Regions from separate parts of the Homo sapiens genome. Here all the other regions are linked to region 1. Evidence: promoter capture Hi-C in 16 types of primary human blood cells and fetal thymus (Javierre and others, 2016). All regions are on one chromosome and are shown on one strand. Each heading gives the region's core, a stretch centred on a gene start or on the middle of the fragment in contact. The rest is flanking DNA. Distances are from core to core; before and after follow the strand shown.

Region 1 (4,458 bases), core at 1,906-4,405:
TTTTTTTTTTTTTTTTTTTCTTTTTTTTAGGCTAGGCAAGGTGGCTCATTCCTGTAATCCCAGCACTTTGGGAGGCCGAGGAGGGTGGATCACCTGAGGTCAGGAGTTTGACAGCAGCCTGGCCAACGTGGCGAAACCCCGTCTCTACTAAAAATAGAAAAATTAGCCGGGCGTGGTGGTGGGCATCTGTAATCCCAGCTACTCGGGAGGTTGAGGCAGGAGAACTGCTTGAACCTGGGAGGCGGAGGTTGCAATGAGCTGAGATTGTGCCACTGCACTGCAGCCTAGATAACAAAGGGAGACTCTGTCTCAAAAAAAAAAAAGTACATTTTTTAACTCTAAAAGTATAAGATACATAAAATCTACTGTCAGCGTACAGCACAATGAATTTCACAAATTGCACACCCAATGTAACCAAGATTAACAGACCCTCACCCAGAAGCTCTCCCAACATGGCCATCACTAGCTTGGCTTAACAGATTTATTTTGCCATGTTTTGTCTATTATATGACAGAGTCATATGTATTATTTTACATCTGGTTTCTTTCAAGCACCATTATGTTAATGATACTCATCTATACTGTTGAGTAGTGCATTGTGTGGGTGGATATTTACATTTATCCATTCTACTATGAATGAGAATTTGGGTTGCTTCCAGAATTTGTCAACTATGAAATAGTGCCGCTATGAATACACACATTGTAGTACATGTGTTTTGGTGGGGATATGTGTTTCTGTTGAATGTGTATCTGGGAGAATTTCATTGTCGTAAGCCTTATGTTAACAGTGTTCCAATATATACTCCCAGGATATGAAAGTGCAATTGCTGGCTGGGCATGGTGGCTTGTGCCTGTAATCCCAGCACTTTGGGAAGCCGAGGTGGGCGGATCACCTGAGCTCAGGAGTTGGAGACCAGCCTGACCAACATGGTGAAATCCCATCTCTACTAAAAAATACAAAAATTAGCTGGGCGCAGTGGTAGGTGCCTGCAATCCCAGCTACTTGGGAGGCTGAGGCAGGAGAATTGTTTGAACCCAGGAGGCGGAGGTTGCAGTGAGCCAAGATCGCGCCAAAGCACCCCAGTCTAGGCGACAGAGCAAGACTCTGTCTCAAAAAAAAAAGCAATGCAACTGCTTCACATCTTTGTTAATTACCTATATAATAAGTGCAATAAGCACACAATAAATATCTGTTGAAAGGACTAATTTGAACACAGATGGCATTTAAAACTATGGGCTTGGATAAGACATCTTGGAAGAAATGTGATTAGGTAAGAGGGCTGATGAACAAAGCCTTGGGCAACTCCCACATTTGCAGAACTGGCAGGAGCATAAAGGAGGAAAATGGGAGAGCTTGGAGTTCTGCAAAACATGAGAAAAATGTGTTTCGAAGGGGCAGTCAACTGCTTTGAATGCTTCCAAGAGACCATAAGATAAGGCAGTGGTTTGGGAAAAGAGGATTCAGGAGTTCTGATCTTGGTCATTTCAAGCCTGAGTAGCTTATGCATTAATCACTCAAATGGACACCTCAAACGTGCAGCTGGATATAGGAGTGTAAAATCTGAGTCTAAGACAAGTATTTGTGAGTGTAAATATATTTCTGAAGGAGAGTATAGATGGGTAAGAGATTGGGTCCCAGTTTTGGGGCATTTCCATGTAGAAGTTGAAAAGAAGTAGATACCTACAGAGCAAAACTATGAGAGTGATGAGACAGAAGAGAAATCTGGAAAGTGTCTTGTCACTGAGGTAATGCCAACATCAACTGTGTTAAATGTTGCTGAGAATAGAAAAATGATCACTGAATTGACCAATTACCAATGAATAAATAATTACTCCAGTAAATAAATATACTTCCATATGATCATTTTGAATGGTTGCACAAAACTCTGTTGCGTGGCTCTACCAAAACCTGCTCAATCAGTTCCATTGTTGAATTTGTAGATTCTTCTCAAACCTTTAGAATCATAAATGATGTCACCTTGAGAATGTTCTAAGAGTATTGTGTCAAATACTCTAAGGGCATTTGGGTCAAAAAAATATGCACATTAGAAAGGTTTTAGGCCGGGCGCGGTGGCTCATGCCTGTAATCCCAGCACTTTGGGAGGCTGAGGTGGGCAGATCACATGAGGTCAAGAGTGGGAGACCAGCCTGGCCAACATGGTGAAATCCCATCCCTACTAAAAATACAAAACTTAGCCGGACGTGGTGGTGAGTCACTGTAATCCCAGCTACCTGGGAGGCTGAGGCAGGGAGAATTGCCTGAACCCGGGAGGCGGAGGTTGCAGTGAGCCAAGACTGCACCACTGCACTCCAGCCTGGGTGACAGAGTGAGACAGCCTCAAAAAAAAAAAAAAAAAAAAAAAGGTTTTGGACCTGGTGTGGTGGCTCATGCCTGTAATCCTATAATCCCAGCACTCTGGGAGGCCGAGGCGGGCGGATCACGAAGTCAGGAGATCGAGACCATCCTGGCTAACACGGTGAAACCCTGTCTCTAGTAAAAATACAAAACATTAGCTGGGCGTAGTGGCAGGCGCCTGTAGTCCCAGCTGCTCGGGAGGCTGAGGCAGGAGAGTGGCGTGAACCTGGGAGGTGGAGCTTGCAGTGAGCCGAAACTGCGCCACTGCACTCCAGCCTGGGTGACAGAGCGAGACTCTGTCTCAAAAAAAGAAAAACAAAACAAAACAAAACAAAGTACGGTGGTGGGTTGGTTTGAAGAATCTAAGAGGGCTATTTCTGGCATTTCCACTATTCCACCATGATTTCCTTGAGAGACTTGCTCTGTCGCCCAGGCCGGAGTGCAGTGGCGCGATCTTGGCTCACCGCAAGAGCTCTGCCTCCTGGGTTTCACCCCATTCTACTGCCTCAGCCTTCCGAGTAGCTGGGACTACAGGCACCCGCCACCATGCCCGGCTAATTTTTTGTATTTTTAGTAGAGACGGGGTTTCACCGTGTTAGCCAGGATGGTCTCGATCTCCTGACCTCGTGATCCGCCCGCCTAGGCTTCCCAAAGTGCTGGGATTACAGGCCTGAGCCACCGCGCCCGGCCTATTCCACCATGATCTCTACCCCTCCTCCCGAATGTTAGTGGTGTAACTATGACAACAAGCACGCGCTGCTCAAGGCTCAATTTTCCAGCCGTTACCGACCTCCACCGCGTCACTGTACGCTGCCCAGAAACTCTGAGGCGGATCCCCCAACCCAGTGTCAGACTGATCGCCTTTGGCCCGAGGGCGAGGAGCCACAGGACAGTATGGCCAAAGCGGCGGCCTCCTCGTCGCTGGAGGACTTGGACCTGAGCGGAGAGGAGGTCCAGCGGCTCACCTCCGCCTTCCAGGACCCGGAGTTCCGGCGAATGTTCTCCCAGTACGCCGAGGAGCTCACCGACCCGGAGAACCGGCGGCGCTACGAGGCGGAGATCACCGCGCTAGAGCGTGAGCGCGGGGTGGAAGTGCGGTTCGTGCACCCGGAGCCCGGCCATGTGCTGCGCACCAGCCTGGACGGGGCGCGGCGCTGCTTTGTGAATGTCTGCAGCAACGCGTTGGTGGGCGCGCCCAGCAGCCGGCCCGGCTCCGGTGGCGACCGGGGCGCAGCTCCTGGCAGCCACTGGTCCCTGCCCTACAGCCTGGCGCCCGGCCGCGAGTACGCGGGGCGCAGCAGCAGCCGCTACATGGTCTACGACGTGGTCTTCCATCCAGACGCGCTTGCGCTGGCCCGGCGGCACGAGGGCTTCCGCCAGATGCTGGACGCCACGGCCCTGGAGGCCGTCGAGAAGCAGTTCGGCGTGAAGCTGGACCGCAGGAATGCCAAGACCCTGAAGGCCAAGTATAAGGGGACCCCAGAGGCTGCGGTGCTGCGCACGCCCCTGCCCGGGGTCATCCCCGCAAGGCCTGACGGGGAGCCGAAGGGTCCTCTCCCGGACTTCCCCTACCCTTACCAGTACCCGGCAGCCCCCGGGCCCCGGGCGCCCTCCCCTCCGGAAGCGGCCTTGCAGCCCGCCCCCACCGAGCCTCGCTACAGCGTGGTGCAGCGCCACCACGTGGACCTCCAGGATTACCGCTGCTCCAGGGACTCAGCCCCGAGCCCCGTGCCCCATGAGCTGGTGATCACCATCGAACTGCCGCTGTTGCGCTCGGCCGAGCAGGCGGCGCTGGAGGTAACGAGAAAGCTGCTGTGCCTCGACTCGAGGAAACCTGACTACCGGCTGCGGCTCTCGCTCCCGTACCCAGTGGACGATGGCCGCGGCAAGGCACAATTCAACAAGGCCCGGCGGCAGCTGGTGGTTACGCTGCCAGTGGTGCTGCCGGCCGCGCGCCGGGAGCCCGCTGTCGCCGTCGCCGCCGCCGCGCCGGAAGAGTCCGCGGACCGGTCCGGAACTGACGGCCAGGCCTGCGCTTCCGCTCGCGAGGGGGAGGCGGGACCCGCGAGGAGTCGCGCGGAGGACGGAGGCCACGATACCTGC
Region 2 (3,940 bases), core at 724-3,223, 460 kb before region 1:
AACTATATGGGGGTAGGGGGTGGGTGTGGAGGGCAAACACATAGCAAATGGATGCTGGGCTTAATACCTAGGTGATGGGATGATCTGTGCAGCAAACCACCATGACACACGTTTACCTATGCAACAAACCTGCACATCCTGCACATGTACCCCTGAATTTAAAAGCTGAAGATAAAAAAATAAATTCAGTCCAATAAAAAAGTAATAAGCTATATGGGAGGATGTGTATAGGTTATATGCAAATACTACACTATTTTATACAAAGGACTTGAACATCTGTGGATTTTGATATCTGTGGGTGGTCCTGGAATCAATTCCCCATGGATACTGAGGGATGACCGTATATAGGTTTGGGGGCAGAAGAGAGGGTGGACTGAGAAAGATGATGTCTTTTCTTTTTTTTTTTTTTTTTTTTTGGCAAGACAGAGTCTCATTCTGTAGCCCAGGCTGGAGTGCAGTGGTGCTATCTTGGCTTACTGCAACCTCTGTCTCCCAGATTCAAGCGATTCTCCTGCCTCACCCTCCTGAGTAGCTGGGATTACAGGCGCGTGCCACCACACCCGGCTAATTTTTGTATTTTTAGTAGAGACGGGGTTTCGCCATGTTGTCCGGGCTGGTCTCGAACTCCTGACCTCAGGCCATCCACCTGCCTCAGCCTCTCAAAGTGCTGGGATTACAGACGTGAGCCACCGTGCCCAGCCAAGTTGAGGTCTTATAGATCACCCCAAATGTATAGATTGGGGGAAAGCCCAGGTTAAGGCCCTGGGAAGTACCAAAATTCAAGGAATTATTGGAAAAAAACAGAACACTTAAAGGTGAAATACTGAAATATCTTCTGCCTTGACTCCAGGGACAGTCAGTTCTCAAACAGGTTGATGGTCATATAGCTCCCATTTTTGTATTTCATACACTGAGACTTCCAACCTGACTTTCATCTGCCAGGATTAGATTTTATACATCTGCCCCCAAGTCAACATAATGATGCTGCCTGCTTAGCAGCTTAGCTATCTGCAGCAGTGCCATCTTTGCACCTTGGTACTTGGGCAGCTGTTTTAATACCTGGTCCTTGTTCTAAAAAAAATGAGAGAAGACCCCAAAATGAATATGTTGTTACTAATGATAAGCAACTCAGGTCTCAGATGAATACAACTTAGGATGGAAGCCACTGGTATTCAGAAAGCAGTAAATCTTGTAGCCTCAATAGCTGCTCGTTGGACTTAGTTTGATTGTGAGTTCACTTATGAAAAGGAATGAGGAAAATATGAGTATAGAACCAATATTGGAAATATTGTTGAACATGTGGATCTATTTCTTTTTCTTTTTGATACTGGAACTTTTCTCCTATTTGACTTAAGTAGGTCTGACTTTCTCCGCCCAGCGTCTGGTTGCTCCTCCGTCACCATCCTTCGTTCCTTTTCCTTCTCTGTTGCTTAACTCACAATTCCCTGGGGCTCTGTCTTTTGACCACTCACCTCTGCACACATAGATCTTGCAATTTTCATGATTCCAACTACAAGCTTATTGTAGAGGCCCCCTCTCTAGACCTCTAGCTCCGATCCCTCTCTTAAGTCTGACCTCTCCCCTTCAGCTGCCTGCCTGATGTCTTCCTTTGCTTGCCCAACCAAGAGTATGTCTTAGCAAAATTTCTGCAAAAATAGACTCTTCTGCCTCATATTCTTGTTTTACTAATGGCATCACCATTCTTTTAGCATTTCTAATTTCTTCTGCCTCACATGAACTCAGCGTGTCATACACTGATCTGTGATGGGTTCTCACAGTCTTCCCCCACTTTCCATCTTCACGGCCATCATCACCTCAGGTTGGGCCTCACTCCTCTAATAGTCTCCCCACCTTCAATATCTCTCTACACTTATCTGTGCAGGCGGTGGTGGCAGAGCGTACTCCTAACCTGGGGTTCCAGACTTTTCATCATGCTACTCCCAATAGCCCACCAAGTTCAGGAGAGACTTGGGTTTCCTGACCGAGGCTAACCCACAGGATTCCCCCTGCATAAGAGGCCCTTCTTTTCTGGGGTAGCTAGTGCCAAGGATAAAGTAAGTTTTGAGCTGCTCAAGAGTAAAAGTCAAGATAGAGGAAAGCAGAGTCTAGAAGCAAACAGAGAAATTAGAACGTTTTTCCGATGATTCTGTTTGAGTCTCTGAAGCCAGCTATGTCTAAAGCCACCGCAGCTCCTGGACTTCCCAGTTACCTCACCTAGTTAACTCTGTTCTGCTGGTTTGGGGCTGGGTTTCTCTCCCTTGCAGTGGATCAGATCCTAACTGGTAGAGCATTCAAACCTTTCAGCCCATTAAACCCTACTCTTAAGATCCTTCTCAATCATTACCTTCCCAGAAAGTAATCTGCTTTTTAAGTTTGCATTTTGTCCATAATACCCACCAGATCATCTTAACAGTTGATTTAGAAGCTTTCTAGAATAGTGTTGGTTGCTGATCATACTGTGGAGATCTTATCAAACTACAAAAGTAAGCGTTATGAAACTCATCAGAAAGTAAAAGGGAGGAAACAAAAACCTGCTGTGGGAGTGGTTTGATTTAAATGTAACAAAAGAGGAAATGTACTTCTTTGCACCCAGAAAGTGTTCAAGCCTGCACCTCTCCATCCCCCAATCAAGGGATCATTATTTAGTGAGAATAACTCAAGAGATGAGAAAATGAGTAGCTTACATAAGGAGGTAGATTCTGGGGCTTGGTTCTAACCCCCATGATTATGGGGGTTCCTGAGAAGTGGAGGGAGAATTGCAACATGTATTAGGAGAGGTACTTGGGCAGTGAGGTTTGCCATCTGGAGAGCAAGTGTTTTTTTGTTTGTTTGTTTTGTTTTTTCTTTTCGTTTTTTCTGAGACAGAGTTTCGGTCTTGTCGCCCAGGCTGGAGTGCAATGGCGCAATCTCGGCTCACTGCCGCAACCTCCGCCTCCTGGGTTCAAATGATTCTCCTACCTCAGCCTTCTGAGTAGCTGGGATCACAGGCATGTGCCACCATGCCCAGCTAATTTTGTATTTTTAGAAGAGACAGAGTTTCTGCATGTTGATCAGGCTGGTCTGGAACTCCCGACCTCAGGTGATCTGCCTGCCTTGGCCTATCCACCTGCCTCGGACTCCTAAAGTGCTGGGATTACAGGTGTAAGCCACTGTGCCTGGCCTTTTTTCTTTTTTAAAACTTATTAAAACAAACAAATCAACAACAACAACAACAAAATGAGGTCTTGCTACTTTGCCTAGGCTAGTCTTGAACTCCTGGGCTCAAGCGATTCTCCTACCTCAGCCTCCCAAAGTGCTGAGATTACAGGCATGAGCCACTGCACCTGGCCAGGAGAGCAAGTTTTAAAACTGGCCAGGTCACTATTCACAATAGCAAAGACTTGGAACCAACCCAAATGTCCATCAATGATAGACTAGATTAAGAAAATGTGGCACATATACACTATAGAATACTATGCAGCCATAAAAAAGGATGAGTTCATGTCCTTTGTAGGGACATGGATGAAGCTGGAAACCATCATTCTCAGCAAACTATCGCAAGGGCAGAAAACCAAACACCGCATGTTCTCACTCATAGGTGGGAATTGAACAATGATAACACTTGGACACAGGAAGGGGAACACAACACACAGGGTCCTGTTGTGGGGTCGGGGGAGGGAGGAGGGATAGCATTAGGAGATATACCTAATGTTAAACGATGAGTTAATGGGTGCAGCACACCAACATGGCACATGTATACTTATGTAACAAACCTGCACGTTGTGCACATGTACCCTAGAACTTAAAGTATAAAAAAAAAAGAAAATGGTTGTGAATATTTTGAGTCTAATAATAAATTTTGCCTTTCTTTAAAAAAAAAAAAAAATCTGACCAGGTGTTGTAACTCACGCTTGTTGTAATCCCAGTACTTTGGGAGGCCGAGGCAGGAGGATCATTTGAG
Region 3 (4,236 bases), core at 1,314-3,813, 510 kb before region 1:
CGCCATACCACAAATCTCACCCTCTGGTTTGAAAAGTAAGTTTTAATTTACTCTTACTACCTCCTAATAGCCATAATATTAAGTCATATTTAAGCTAAAATTCTGGCTACTCATAATTATCTTGTTTTCTAAGTGAGGTGAAGAAACTTTTCTAAGCCATGAATTTTTGTTGTTGTTAGATGCATTGTGGAAGCAGAAAATTTTGAAGAACGGGTGGCAGTACTAAGTAGAATTATAGAAATTCTGCAAGTTTTTCAAGATTTGAATAATTTCAATGGCGTATTGGAGATAGTCAGTGCAGTAAATTCAGTGTCAGTATACAGACTAGACCATACCTTTGAGGTAAGTTTTAGGCTTAACTTTTTCATTTTTCTCGGGGATGATGAAATTAGCATAAAAGAAATTTCATCTATCATCTGTCTTTTTAATTAAATTCTTTGTAAATTCATCCTTGCTTCATAAATATGATATAAATATATTAGAAAATATGTTGATATATTAGTTAATATATGAATATGATATATAATATGTGAATCCTAGGCTTATATTAGAAAATATATCAATATTCAATAAACAATATGAGACTTGCACTGCCGTGTAATGTACTTAACCTAAATGTAATGAAGTTCCAAGTGGATTTATTCAATAACACATTGATTGATAGTCTCAAATGACAAAGGATTTTAAATATAAAAATACAAGTAATGTCTTAATTACCTTTAGGTAGTCAACAATAGTATAACACGGGAAGAACTATTTCAAAAACTTAAATTTGGCCAGGCGTGGTGGCTCACGCCTGTAATCCCAGCACTTTAGGAGGCTGAGGCGGGTCGATCACCTGAGCTCAGGAGTTCGAAACCAACCTGGACAACGCGGCGAAACCCCATCTCTACTAAAAATACAAAAATTAGCTGGGCATGGTGGCGCACGCCTGTTATCCCAGCTACTTCGGAGGCTGAGACAGGAGAATTGCTTGAACTCAGGAGGCAGCATTTGCAGTGAGCTGAGATCACACCACTGCACTCCAGGCTGGGCGACACAGTGAGACTCAGTCTCAAAAAATTAAAAAATATATATATTTTTTAAATTATAAAATATGTGTTTAACATGTACTATTGAAAATTCAGGAGATATAGAAAATAGGAAGATATTTTGCATATATATTTTAATAACAAAATTGAGATTACATTGTGCATAGATTTTTATGGCCCTTTTCTCATAAACAGTTTTCTATTTTTTTATTAGCTTATCTTCAAAAACAAGATTTTAATGGCATCAAGGTTTTCTATCATGGATAAATCATAATTTATTCCAACAGTAGATTGTGGGACAATTAAGTTATTTCTGATTTTTTTCTGTGATAATTTATCATGGAATATTCATATGTAGAAGTCTTTTTAAGAGCTTGATTATTTCCCTAGAAATAATCTAGGGGTGGAAATCCTGGGTCTGAGTATTTATATACTTTAAGACTTTAAATACTTTTGCCAAGGTGTTTCGTAGCAGGATACGATAAATGCCCCTTGGTATTATGTATTATATTAAAAGCTTTTGGCCAGGTGTGGGGGCTCTCACCTGTAATCCCAACACTTTGGGAGGCAGAGACAGGAGGATCACTTGAGCCCAGGAGTTTGAGACCAGCCTGGGCAACATAGGGAGACCACATCTCTACAAAAAAAAAAAAAAAATAGCCAGGCATGGTGTTGCATGCCTCTGGCGGGGGCAGAAATCGCACTGCATTTTTAAATTGTATGTTAAAAAATAACTAGTGAGGCTGGGCTCAGTGGCTCACCTGTAATCCTAGCACTTTGGGAGGCCGAGGCGGGTGGATCACCTGAGGTCAGGAGTTCGATACCAGCCTGGCTAACATGATGAAACCCCATCTCTACTAAAAGTACAAAAATTAGTCAGGCATGGTGGTATGTGCTGGTTTGCAATCCCAGCTACTCAGGAGGCTGAGGCAGGGGTATCGCTTGAACCTGCCTGGTGGAGGTTGCAGTGAGCCAAGATTGCCCCACTGCACTCTAGCCTGGGCAACAGAGTGAAACTTGTTCTCAAAATAAATAATAACTAGTGAGGTTGAATATGTATTTATTGGGTACTTTATGATTTATGTATTCATTGCCTCTCTCATTTTTGGGGGAGGGTGTTTTCATTTTGTTGATTTTTTTTTTTTTTTTTTCCTAAAGAGTCAAGCTTGCTCTGTCACCCAGGCTGGAGTGCCAGTGGCATGATCATAGCCCACTGCAGTCTCGAACTCCTGGGCTCAAGGGATCGTCCTGTCCCAGCCTCTTGAGTAGCTGCGATTACAGGCATTAGTCAGCATGTCCAGCTGCATTTTATTCATTTATATGGATTTTTCATATATTAAAGATATTAAAACTTAGACTGTACATATATTCTCATTTCTGTTTGTCTTTTATCTGCTTTTTAATTTAAAAAATGTATAATGCTTTGACATAAGGACGTTTTATCATTTTTATTTAGTTGCACATATCAGTCTCTTCACTTATGGTTTCTTCCTTTGCTTTTGTACCTGGAAAGACTTTTTTTAAGTAAAGGATAACAAGTTAGAAACTCAGCCATATAAATACTGCTTTTGGGAATGTGCGTTTTTACAATCTTTCTGGAAAGCAGTCTAACAATATATGTTAAAATTAAAAATGTGCATACTCTTAGGACCCAGAATTGCAAAGAAATAAACACACCAGAGTATAAAGTTATATGTACAAAGATATAGTTACTGCAGCATTAGTTGTAGTAGCAGAAAACAGGAAACAACCTGAATGTCTATCAGTAAGAGAATGATTAAATACATCCTCTTATACCTCTATTGTAGAATATTGTTCAGCTATACAACAAAGTGAATGGGATCTATGTGTATTGTTGTGGAAGAACATTTGTGATATTTCAGCAGGGGAAAAGCTTCAGAATGACTATAATATTATTCCATTTTAGTATCACAAAGCAGAGCAAACCCCAAACCTCTAAGTGGAACTGGATAAGTATTGAGAATAATGTGGGAGGTTACATACTCCTCTTTTAACATTATTTATTTATTTTTTTTAGTGGGTTGTTATTAGAGGGGAATAGAGGAAAAACTGCTTTATACATATATTTTTCTGTTTGGGTGTTTGCATTTTATTGATTTGTATGAACTTTATATGTTAAAGATATTAATACTTAGTCAAATATTATGAAATAGGCCGGGGGCAGTGGCTCATGCCTGTAATCCCAACACTTTGGGAGGCTGAGGTGGGTGGATCACATGAGGCCAGGAGTTTGAGACCAGCCTGGCCAACATGATGAAACCCCGTCTTTACTAAAAATATAAAAATTACCCAGGCATGCTGGCGGGCGCCTGTAATCCCAGCTACTTGGGAGGCTGAGGCAGGAGAATCACTTGAACCCGGGAGGCAGAGGTTCCAGTGAGCCGAGATCGCACCACTGCACTCCAGCCTGTGCGACAGAGCAAGATTCCATCTCAAAAAAAAAAAAAAAGAAATATTAATGTATTTAATAAATGTGTCATAAATTGAATGCCTATATCTGTAGGCCTTTTGTTGGTCTCTCTGTTCTGTTCCTTTGATCTATTTGATCACTCTTGTGCCAGTGCCACTAGTCTAAACTATCATAACTTTATAGTAGTCCTTGATAGAGAAGAGTAGGGCAAATCCTCGCCAATCTTACTCTTTTTCAGGAGGAACGTATTCTTGGTTCTTTGTTCTCCTATATACATTTTAGAATCAATTTAAGCTCCATTTTTTTAAATTGGCATTTTGATAGGAGTTGCATTGGCTCTCTAAATCCAATTACAGATTAGTGAAGAACTGACATTTTTATAGTAACAAGTCTTTTCAACTGTGAACATCGTTTATCTCTTTATTTACTCAGTTAATAAAGTTTTGTGGGGTTTTTTTTGTTTTGACAGAGATCGCATACCTCTTTTGCTAGATGTATATTAGAATTATTTTGTTTTCAGTGACCCTTAGAGACAGGGTCATGCTCTGTCACCCAGGCTGGAGTACAGTGGCATGATCATAGCTTACTGCAGCCTCCTATTCCCAGGCTCAAACAGTCTTCCTACCTTAGTCTCCTGAGTAGTGGGGACTATAGGCACGTGCCACCCTGCTCAGCTAATTTTTTAAATTTTATGTGGAGATTGGGCGTTGCTATGTTGCGCAGACTGGTTTCGAACTCCTGGCCTCAAACTATTCTCCCACCCCAACATCTCAA

What was found. The method cuts DNA at HindIII sites, captures the fragments that hold promoters and counts their contacts. A CHiCAGO score of 5 or more calls a contact.
Region 2: a fragment that was not itself captured here is called in contact with the fragment with the promoter of DNAAF2 in region 1 in 2 of 17 cell types (fetal thymus and naive CD8 T cells); the score reaches 6.6 in fetal thymus.
Region 3: a fragment that was not itself captured here is called in contact with the fragment with the promoter of DNAAF2 in region 1 in 1 of 17 cell types (erythroblasts); the score reaches 6.1 in erythroblasts.

Annotation. Positions count from the first base shown.
Region 1 is chr14:49,633,941-49,638,398 of GRCh38, reverse strand. It overlaps DNAAF2 (dynein axonemal assembly factor 2), which reads left to right and starts at 3,155. Exons shown (of 3, transcript NM_018139.3): 1 at 3,155-4,458. The coding sequence starts at 3,250. RefSeq lists silencers at 3,534-3,583, 3,814-4,053, 4,324-4,458 and enhancers at 3,511-4,271, 4,084-4,323. The HindIII fragment of the contact is 6,803 bases long and covers 1-4,458 here.
Region 2 is chr14:50,094,684-50,098,623 of GRCh38, reverse strand. All of the region lies in intron 1 of LINC01599 (long intergenic non-protein coding RNA 1599), which reads left to right. Among named protein-coding and RNA genes, the nearest start is that of LINC01599, 8.4 kb to the left of the region's middle. The HindIII fragment of the contact is 908 bases long and covers 1,520-2,427 here.
Region 3 is chr14:50,141,276-50,145,511 of GRCh38, reverse strand. It overlaps SOS2 (SOS Ras/Rho guanine nucleotide exchange factor 2), which reads left to right. Exons shown (of 23, transcript NM_006939.4): 15 at 1-35; 16 at 180-342. Among named protein-coding and RNA genes, the nearest start is that of VCPKMT, 27 kb to the right of the region's middle. The HindIII fragment of the contact is 729 bases long and covers 2,199-2,927 here.